2 separate regions of the Homo sapiens genome follow, and region 1 is linked to region 2. Evidence: promoter capture Hi-C in 16 types of primary human blood cells and fetal thymus (Javierre and others, 2016). All regions are on one chromosome and are shown on one strand. The core of a region is centred on a gene start or on the middle of the fragment in contact, and the rest is flanking DNA. Distances in the headings are between cores, read along the strand shown.

The links. The method cuts DNA at HindIII sites, captures the fragments that hold promoters and counts their contacts. A CHiCAGO score of 5 or more calls a contact.
Region 1: a contact is called between a fragment that was not itself captured here and the fragment with the promoter of MYO10 in region 2, in 3 of 17 cell types (M2 macrophages, monocytes and M0 macrophages). The highest score is 7.6, in M2 macrophages.

The regions. Positions count from the first base shown.
Region 1 is chr5:18,298,120-18,303,220 of GRCh38, forward strand. No RefSeq gene overlaps it. Among named protein-coding and RNA genes, the nearest start is that of LINC02100, 450 kb to the right of the region's middle. The HindIII fragment of the contact is 6,425 bases long and covers 1-5,101 here.
Region 2 is chr5:16,933,469-16,938,505 of GRCh38, forward strand. It overlaps MYO10 (myosin X), which reads right to left and starts at 2,820. Exons shown (of 41, transcript NM_012334.3): 1 at 2,320-2,820. The coding sequence starts at 2,340. The HindIII fragment of the contact is 4,395 bases long and covers 1-3,652 here.

The DNA.
Region 1 (5,101 bases), core at 1,711-4,210, 1.4 Mb after region 2:
AACATACAGTAAAGGTTTTAATTCCTGAGACTTAAGTTGGATAGGTCTAGATTTTCATCAAGGAAAACAAAAGTATGATGTTAAATTCAAATTCTACTCACTGTACTTTGGGAGATTCCCTCCACCATTGGTGAAAAGTTTTATTTTCTAAAATCACACACACTACATATATTTATACAATGCCCATCTTGCCAAAGATGTCTTCCCTGAAATTCTAAATTTATTTTTTCCATCTTCAGATTGTTCAAAACATTGCAACAAAAATGACAAAAAATGTAGTTAAGAGTAATTAGACAATGAAAGAGATGACCTGACCCTGTACAAGGTCAAATGACATTAGGGAGCAACAACTTCTATAATCTCATAAATCACCAAGAAAATGGGCTATTGTGACAAGAGTTTTTGTCAGGAAACCCTTAATATCATCCTGGGATCTTCACTGTGATCAGTATATTCCTCCACCATGCCAAAGAACACCTATAATAGTTGAAGATATAAAAACATTTTTCCAAAAAAATGATTCTATTGTCCTAAATCATTTGCCCAGGTTACTTCATAACTATCTCTTCAATTGAGTTTCAATATTGGCAAAAATTCTTTTGGTTTTCTAATTTATCTTTCTTCCATAAGACACATAATTTATAATTAAACAAAATGTGTCTCTATTAAGTTAAAGTAACGTCTCCATTCCTTCATCACTCTTCACAAAGGTAAATGAAACAATCAACTGCCTCATCTATAAACCATCATTTATATTCCTAATTCTTCCTTCCTGTTGGGCTTGATATACTTTCAACATCTTTTAGGTAAGCCACACGGATAGGTGGTCAATCTAAATGAGTGAAAAATATTCTGTAGCAATCAAGAAGATAAATCAAACCTTGTAAATTTTCCCTACAAATTGGAGCAATATTATGACTTGAACAGTTTATCAAAATTAAGAGCAGTGATTCTTATTCCTAGCTGTCCATTACAAACACCAGGTGTGGGGAGTGGGTAATTTACACATTGAATATTAGGCTTTCTATTAGTCCATTCTCACACTGCCATAAAGAACTACCTGAGACTGGGTAATTTATAAAGAAAAGAAGTTTAATGGACTCACAGTTCCATAGACTGTACAGGAGGGATGGCTGGGGAGGCCTCAGCAAACTTACAGTCATGGCTGAAGGTGAATGAGAAGCAGGCACAATCTTCACATAGTGGAGCAGGAGGAAGAAAGGGTGAGCAAAAGGGGAAGTGCCACACACTTTAAAACAATAGATTTCCTGAGAATGCTCTCATTATCATGAGAACAGCCAAGGGGGAAATCCATCCTCATGATCACATCACCTCCAACCAGGTTTCTCCCCCAACATTGGGAATTACAATTCAACATGACATTTGGGTGGGGACACAGAGATAAACCATATCAGGCTTCAACTGACAATAAATTAGTCAGAAGCCTCAGTACTTGTGCTCAGACTTGGGCTCAGGCTTGGGTGTTTTCTTAAAAAAAATCATTCCAGGTGATTTTAATGTGTAACCATGGCTGAGAACCAGTGAATTAGATAATCATTTTCTAGTGCATTGCTCAATTAAGATAATTATGCCCATAGAGCTTAAGCTATACCTGCTCCACACTTTCCATATCTAACTTTTATACCACCATTCTCTCTCTTCTTAATAAACACATTGTCATTATAAGTCATCACTGCTTTGTCTGTATCTCCAACAATAGGGAAGGGTGTGAAGGAATTTGAAGAGTTTTAATCCATTTTTTACATCTCTAGGGGTAATAAATTTATAGGCTCATGAAATTCTTCTTACTGCTTCTATTGAAGGAAGGGAAGAAGATCTGTTGACATAATGTCTAGGGAGAAACTTTAAGTTAATCTTGACACCCAGAGATACTAATTCTTTTTTTTTTTCCTGTATTTTCTTTTATAGACTTAAAATGACTGCTCTGCAGCCAGGAGTAACTGAAATATTTGGCTTCTTAAAAGTGATGACCTATTTAATGAACAGATGATATAAATATAAGCCATAAGGTTCTTATTAAAATATAAATGGAGGGGTCAATTTCTTAAATGTTTTTAAATATTCAAGGGTTCACAAAGAGGGAATTTTTTAGAACAGAACAGAGATTTCCCTAAAATAAGTTTTATTTTTCTATTAAAATATGCATCAATATCATTATAAGTATGTTTTTCGAGGTTGCCCTTTCCTGCTTTGAATGGTTATGGCAGACTTTGTTTTTCTGTTTATCGCATCTTTAGAGGAATGCCCACATGCCAGAAACAAGTACAACTGAATTTCCTTAACTTGAAATTTCTAAAAAGCAAATAAAATGAAAGAGAATTACAGAGATGAAACAAATTTTATAGAAACTTTTGAATTACATTCGTCCATATTGTTTTATTTTCTGATGTTTTATAGGCTGGGCCTTAGACTAGATCTTTATTTTCATGTCTTGTTCTGACCACATGACATAGTTTAAGGTAGAAACATACACTGTCTGTCAGAGTAAAGCAACACAGAACAATGAGTTCAACGAGTTAATTCACTGGCAATTTGAGTTTTTCCTGATGCTAGTACATGTATGTTCATTCTGTCATTCATAGAGAATCACAGGACAAGTTCTTCCATGGGAAGCAGTTTTATTTTATTGTAGGAAAAAAAGTACTTCAGAAGTAGTTAAGTCCTAGCATAAATAATTATTTATATATATATACTCATATTAGATATTAATTTTAAACAGGTGAAATAGTGAAGTAACAATTATAATGAAAAATCTTATTGTACTGAAAAAACATTGATGTCTACTACATTGGAAGGATTTAAAGCCTTGAAGCATTTTTTTAATCCAACAAACTAAAAATGGAGACTGAGTGAAGATTGCGAATTCACTGAATAATCATTTTGATTCAAATGGTAATGTCACTGAGAAGAAACATTTATTTGACAATCACAAGTGGTATTACCATTTGAATAAAATGATAATTTTATTTTGTTTGCAAAATAGGGTACACATACTATTTATAATTATTTCGTTGTTAAATTTTAAAACTAATTTAATTTCCTGGCCTCTTTCTAAAGTGTGTAGATTAATACCTAATTAGAATTTTAAAAATGAATTATTGGATCTGATGTTTAATGAGATTGTCTGTTGCCATAAGAAATTATAATCTGTTTCACACCTATTTTCTTCTTTTTCAGCTTTTACTTTAGATTCAGGGAGTGCATGTGCAGGTTTGTTACCTGGGTGTGCTGCATGATACTGAAGTTTGGGGTGATCAAATGATCCCATCACCCAGGTAGTGAGCATAGTACTCAACACTTTTTCAACCTTTTCTTCCCTTACTCCCTCCCCTTTCTAGTATTTCCCATTTCTGTTGTTACCATCTTTATGTCCCTGAGTACCCAATATTTAGCTCCCACTTACAAGTGAGAACATGTGGTATTTGTTTTTTTTTTTTTTTTTCCTGTGCTAATTCACTTAGAATAATAGCCTCCAGCTGCATCTATGTTGTTGCAAAGGACATGAATTCATTCTCTTAGAACTGCGTGGTATTCCATGGTGTATATGTACCACATTTTCTTTATACATTTCACCATTTATGGACACCTAGGATGATTTCATGCCTTTGCTATTGTGGAATTGTGTTGCAATGAACATATGACTGCATGTGTCTTTTCGGGAGAATGATTTGCTTTCTTTTGTATATAAACCCAGTAATGCGATTGCTAGGTCAAATGGTAGTTCTAGTTTAAGTTTTTTGAGAAATCTCCAAACTGCTTCCCACAGTGGCTGAATTAATTTGGATTCCCACCAACAATGTGTAAGTGTTCCCCTTTCTCAGCAGCCTCGCCAGCACCTGTTGTGTTTTGACGTTTTAATTGTAGCCATTCTTACTGCTGTGAGATGGTATCTCATTGTGGTTTTCATTTGCATTTCTCTGATGATTAGTGACATAAGCATTTTTTTCATGTTTGTAGGCCACTTTTGTGACTTCTTTTGAGAAATGACTGTTCATGTCTTTTACCCATTTTTAAATGGTTTTTTTTTTTTTTTTTTTTTTTTTTGCTTGTTAAATTCCTTATAGATTATGGATATTAGACCTTTGTCAAATGTATGGTTTGGGAATATATTCTCCCATTCCATAGGTTATCTGTTTACTCTGTTGATAGTTTCACTGGCTGTGCAAAAACTATTTAGTGTCATTAGGTCCCACCTACCAATTTTTGTTTTTGTTGCAATTGCTTTTGAGGACTTAGTCATAAATTCTTTTCTGAGGTCAATGTTCAGAATGGTGTTTCCTAGGTTTTCTTCTAGGATTCTTATAGCTTGAGGTTTTACATTTAAATCTTTTAAATTTTGAGTTAATTTTTGCATATGATGAGAGGAAGGTATCCAGTTTGATTCTTCTGCATATGGCTAGCCAACTATCCTTGCACCATTTTTTGAATAGGGAGTCCTTTTCCTATTGCTTATTTTTGTCTACTTTGTCGAAGGTCAGATGGCTGTAGGTAAATTTCATATATTTTCAAGAAGAGATTATGTTTTAGAGTTGATGCTGTCAATAAAGCACAAACCAAATAGGTTAAAGTAGTATCTAGAGTTATGATAAGATGTTTATTATATCTGACAGTAAGCAGATACAGTAATTTGTGGGACCAAATACTACATTTGGTTTGCAAGCATTGTTCATGGCATTGAAAGACCCTTGGTTTAACCAGAGAAAGAGCATGGGCTTATTGAATTCTAGTTCTGCGACTAATTTTGTGACATTGGACATATTTAGTCTTCCTGCTTTATTTATAAAATAGAGATGACAATGCATATTCCATAAGGTCTTTCTTAGGAATTAATCTGATAATGCCTAGAAATTCTCAGAACACTGCAAAACTCAGTAGCTTACCCACCACTATAATCCTAATTTTTTTATCCAGCAAAACAAATTCTGATATTGGATAATGCTAGATGCCAAGTCTTTTTTTCTTTGTTGGTAGCCTTTCTTATTGGGAATGTGGCACTGTATTTTTTTCTACAAAAAGGTAGAAAAGCAAAAATCTGAGCCGATGTGTATATGGGTTTTTCATTTTCTTTTAAGCATGTGCC
Region 2 (5,037 bases), core at 1,570-4,069:
TAGCACTGGCTTTAAACTGTTGTCCAACAAGCAACAAGTCATTTACCCCTAAGCCACAATGGGAAAAGTTAGCAAAGACAGAATTCTACTTAGTGATAAGGAGGCCAAACAATTTAGCTGTCCTTGGGGAATATATCACTTCCACACTCGCTGTTTCTATTCTAACAGGACATTAATTACAGCATTTTCTTCACTGGACAATTTAACAAAAGGATGCTCCATTACAAGACATGAGAGAGAGAAAGGGGAGCTGGGATCTATGTTAAGAGTATGTCTACAATTAATACCTCACTATTTAACCTCTCTGACTGGCCCTGCTTCCTTCCCACTCAAAGTGATTAGATTTAAGGGTGGAACTTTCACGGCTGATTAGAAGTTAATATTGTAATACACATACATCACAAGATTAAAAGTATAACCTTAAAATAAGCGAAAAGTTCCCAGAAATACCAAAGTCACCAGCAGCAAAGGAAAAAGGCTCTGGATTCGTGAACAAGCTCTTCAAAGCTGGGCAAGGGACTTACTCATATCTTTGGGTTAAGATTCTGTCTACAAAATGAAGAGGAGAAAGTAGAAGATCACTAATGGCCAACTGCAAAATAATATTGATCACAGAAATAAAATCCAACAACCAGGCCCCTTACACTGAACTAAGGTATCCAGTGCAAGATGAAAAGAGTACTTTGAAAAGTCAAAGTCTCACCGGGTAACAGGAGATCAGGACGCTGTAGCGCGTTATCCTGATGTTCCCCCCACTTGCACTAGGGGGCAGAGTTCTCCCCAAGGGGGAGCCACGGACCCCTGTGGTGCTCAGACAGGCTACAGGAGGAGTGAGATCCGTGCAAACTGAATACAAATTTCTATATTTTCATCAGATTTTCTAAGGGACCCAGAACACAAAAACAACAAAGTTAAGAATCATTGCCCTAGGGGCAGGGCCTCCGTTTTCTTACAGATGCAAGCAATTAAACACCGGAACTCACTGTAGCCCGAGGGTCCTTTACCACTGGACAACGTGCAACTCTTGCAGAAAGTTCTGGTGCCTTTCGACAAGCATGAAAACAAAAGTCTATGGACTAGAAAATGCGAGCGTCTCACAATTATATATATTTCACTTTTTTTAAGAAAAGGAAAAATATGTATTGATGGATAATTCCTTTCTAGTCTTCCTTCCACAATGAATGTGGGTATCACATCTGAAACACCACTTTTAAAAACTAGATATGACTACTAAACAAGAATGCATTTATCACTTTGGCCAGTATGAATAGCTGTCTGAGAATACAGTCAGTGAGCATGCAGAAAGCAGAATGACTTGAAATATTATATCCAATTAAATCAGATAAACCAAGTCGGCTAACACAGAGGCAAGCCCTCATCAATCTGATTTGCTGGAAGACTCCAAAGCGGTTCTGCACTCAGAAAACATTCCCTGGCTTTCAACGAAAATCACATCAGACTCTCTCAAGTCAACTAAGTTTACTTTGAGCCACTTCAAACCTCAAACTTAAACAGAATTTATTAAATAAACACAACCAAGAAAGGAAAGGGAGCCAAGAAACCACAGTAAGTCTCGATCCCAAAGGGGGAAAAAGGGTTCTCAAGTTAAGTTTCAGTGTCCCACCCTCAACGACCCTAAAGAGGGCATCCGTTTCATCTATTAAAATAGCCACTGTTTGCCCTAAACGAATTTTCTTTACATTCGAATTCAAAATCTGCATGGACACTCTACACAAATACATGATCATTTGATCCCAGGGTCTGGAGTTATCCCAAGCCTTAAAAGAGCACTTCTCGGCGAGCAAAGTAACCGATTAAACCCTTGCCTCTCCTTCTCACACTTCATTAAGCCGTCTCCTCTGGAAGTGTTTGAACCCCTGCACAGGAAGCCCGCACGTTTTGCAAAGGAAATACCAGACAAGACCTTTCTTGGAGAAAGGCAGGTCCCCGCTGAACATTTTATTGGGCTTCCTGCACCCGGGCAGTCGAGCGGGCGGATCGCCCCGCCCGCGCCCCGGCGCGCGCCGCCTCACCTGGCGCGGGTGTCCCAGGGCGCCCCGAGAGCCAGCCACCCACGCAAACGGAAACGCACCTTCGCTACCTCCCGGAGCAAAATGCGAGCGCGGGACAGGACGAAACAAAACCTGCCCGGGCTTACTCATCAGAGACTCCGCGGGGGGATGGGGGGTGATTTCAGGAGACTCCCAGAAAGTTGCGCCTTCCAGGGCTTAGGAAAAAGTACCCAGGGCGCGCGGCGTGGTGGGCAGACGCCTCTCTCCCTGGGCTCCGGAGGCCAGGTCGGACTGGGAGCGCACTTACCTCGGTGAAGAAGTTATCCATTGTTCCAGCGCAGTCCCGGACTCGCCGAGTGCCGCTCCGACTCGCGGAAGTCAGCGCCGCCGCGGGTCCGGGGAAACCATGCGTGTCACGGCGCCACTCCCGAGGACGCGCGCCCGCGGGGCTCCCCTGCTGCCATCGCCCGGTCCCTTCTTGTCCTTCTCACCTTTTGTTCGCCCAAACCCAAGTCCCTAACTCGCCCGTCCCGACGGCAGCCTTTGTCTCTTCTTCCTCCAAGTTCCTCACTACTGGGCGCAGCGCTCGCAAGCGGAGAACAGCTGGTGGCACATTCTTCCCCCAGGCGGGGGAAGGCGGCGGGGTGCTGGCGAGCGCGGCCCCCTCCCTCTGCGCTCCGGCCGGGGGCCCTCGGGGCGGGCAGGAGGACAGCGGGCCGCAAAGTGAGCAGGAGCCGCGATCCCCGCGCGAGCGCTTGGAGGTGAGCAGTCCCGCGCCGCGGCTCAGCCAGCTCTCGCCCGCGGGACTACAGCCCAGCGACCTCGCCCCGCCCTCCCGCAGCCGGCCCCGCCCTCCCGCAGCCGGCCCCGCCCTCCCGCTCGCGGCCCCGCCCCCAGGAGCTTGGCCCTCCGCCAACCACACCGTCTGGCCCCGCCCGGGCGGAGCGCCCCGCCCCCTTCCCGACCAGGCCCCGCCCACTCTAAGCCCGAAGCAGCCGCAGGCTCGTTAGCGGACCCGGGAGGGGGCCGCGTGTTTCCCCAGGTCTTCCCACGTAGGCGTGGGGAGGGGATTTAACTCTTCCCTCTGCAGAGAGAGACTAAACAATCACTTAGAGGGGAGGAGAAGGGACTGGGGGCTTCTGTGCCTTTCATGTTTAGCAGACCCGGGAACCGGCTCAACACGGATCTCATTAATGCAGCCCGGTAGACTAGCAATCTCGGGAAGGAAGCGCGGTCAGCGGAGCTGCCGGGGCTGCGGGGCCAGATCAAAGCGGAAGACGGAGGCTAATCAGAATTTCTGGAAGCTGCATTCCCGTGTTGACTTTCTGTCCTGCAGTCGGGTTTGCTTAAGACGTTTGCGTAACAGCGGGGAAATGTAGTTTTGAAACTGGAAGGGGACGTGGCCAATATCACCTTTAAAAATGTAACCCTTTTCTAGACCTCAAGGAAGCAGAGATGGCAGATGGCACTGAGATGGACGAATGATCAAACCCACCTGGCACTGAGTCCCGTTTCCCCTAGGGCAGTTCTTTTAACTTTATGCTGTGCGAGGGTCACCTGGGAACCTTGTTAGAACGCAGGCTGGAACAATCTGCTTTCCAGGTGCCCCTCAGGTGCTACCTGGTCCTGTGCTGAACGAAAGCTTGTAACAAGTAGAGAAATTAAGAGTAAACGTTTGTAGCAATTTAATAATGCCACGACATCCAAGCACATGATCAGTGGACTCTTTGAACCGAGTATAAACCAGTTTGGGTGTTGTCAGACTCACGTGGTGAGTCACACCTGGCGCCGCAGTGTATTGGTACCTGGCCGACTGGGAACAAAAATGGCTGGTTCTTCAGCACAAAAGATTTGAGATGCTCTCTCCAGGGAATTTGCCAACTGCTACTCAACCTTTAAAACTCAGCTCACAAAGTCACACCTTCCAGGGGAAGGAACCCTTCCCAAAGATGCTACTCCACTCACCCCACCCAAGCTCCCCGTAACCACTGGGCTAGATGCCCACTCTAGGATTTATTCCTAAGACTGTTGGGGAAGGACTGTGCTTTAAGATGAGTATCCCCAGGCTGTCTCACAGCATGAATGAATGAATGAAACATCCTTCTGTAATCCTTATGGGGAAAGTCAAGCATGTTTGTAACTTATCCCAGTCCAGTTCTTCACCATTAATATCATTGCTCCCACCTCACTTCCCTTTAGAAAGAGTCAAGGTGTAAATTAGTTAATGATATTGTGCAATGTTGTTCTGTTTCACAGGTTTACACGCTTAAGGCGCTGAGCCATTAAAGCTTGTGTCCAAGGTCGCAAGGAAAGTGAAGATGGAGTCAGGATAAATACCAACAATCCCAGTGCTTAGTCAAATGGGTCCTGCAACCACTGGTGTTCAGATACTGGAGCAGAACAATTACAGTCATTATGGTATTAATCTGCACACAACATCTCTGCCAGAGAAATTACCAGGGAGATTGTTGAAGTGAGTGTGTGGGTGTGACGTGGTTCCCAGCATCAGCCCAGCCACTGATACGTTGGGCAACCTCGCCATGTCATTTCAAAAGTCACTTTCCATATCGGCTCATCAGTTATAACAAATGTACCACACTAATGCAACATGTTAATAATAGGGGCAAGTGAGGGTGAGGGGCTGGGAGGGGTCTATGGACACTCTCTGTACTTTCTGGCCAATTTTTATGTAAGCCTAAAACTGTTTTTTTAAAGTCTACTAATCTTTTAAAGGTGATTTTCCTGCCAATTATGAAGATATCGTTAATAATTGCCCCCAATTTGACTCACGTAAAGAATGGTGAGCCAGATCCAATATATAAAGTTTAGATTTTACTGAATCATTTTATTTCTTCAAAAAGCTTACATCATCAGTTAACAGGGTAAGAAAGTTAAAAAAAAAAACTTACATCAATGTTTTATCAATGTTGATCCCTAGATCACCTTATCAGTTGCTAAAAAGAAAAAAAAACTGACTCCAAATCTCTGTGGCAAATTGATTTCCTAAGAATTTGCATTTTTTATT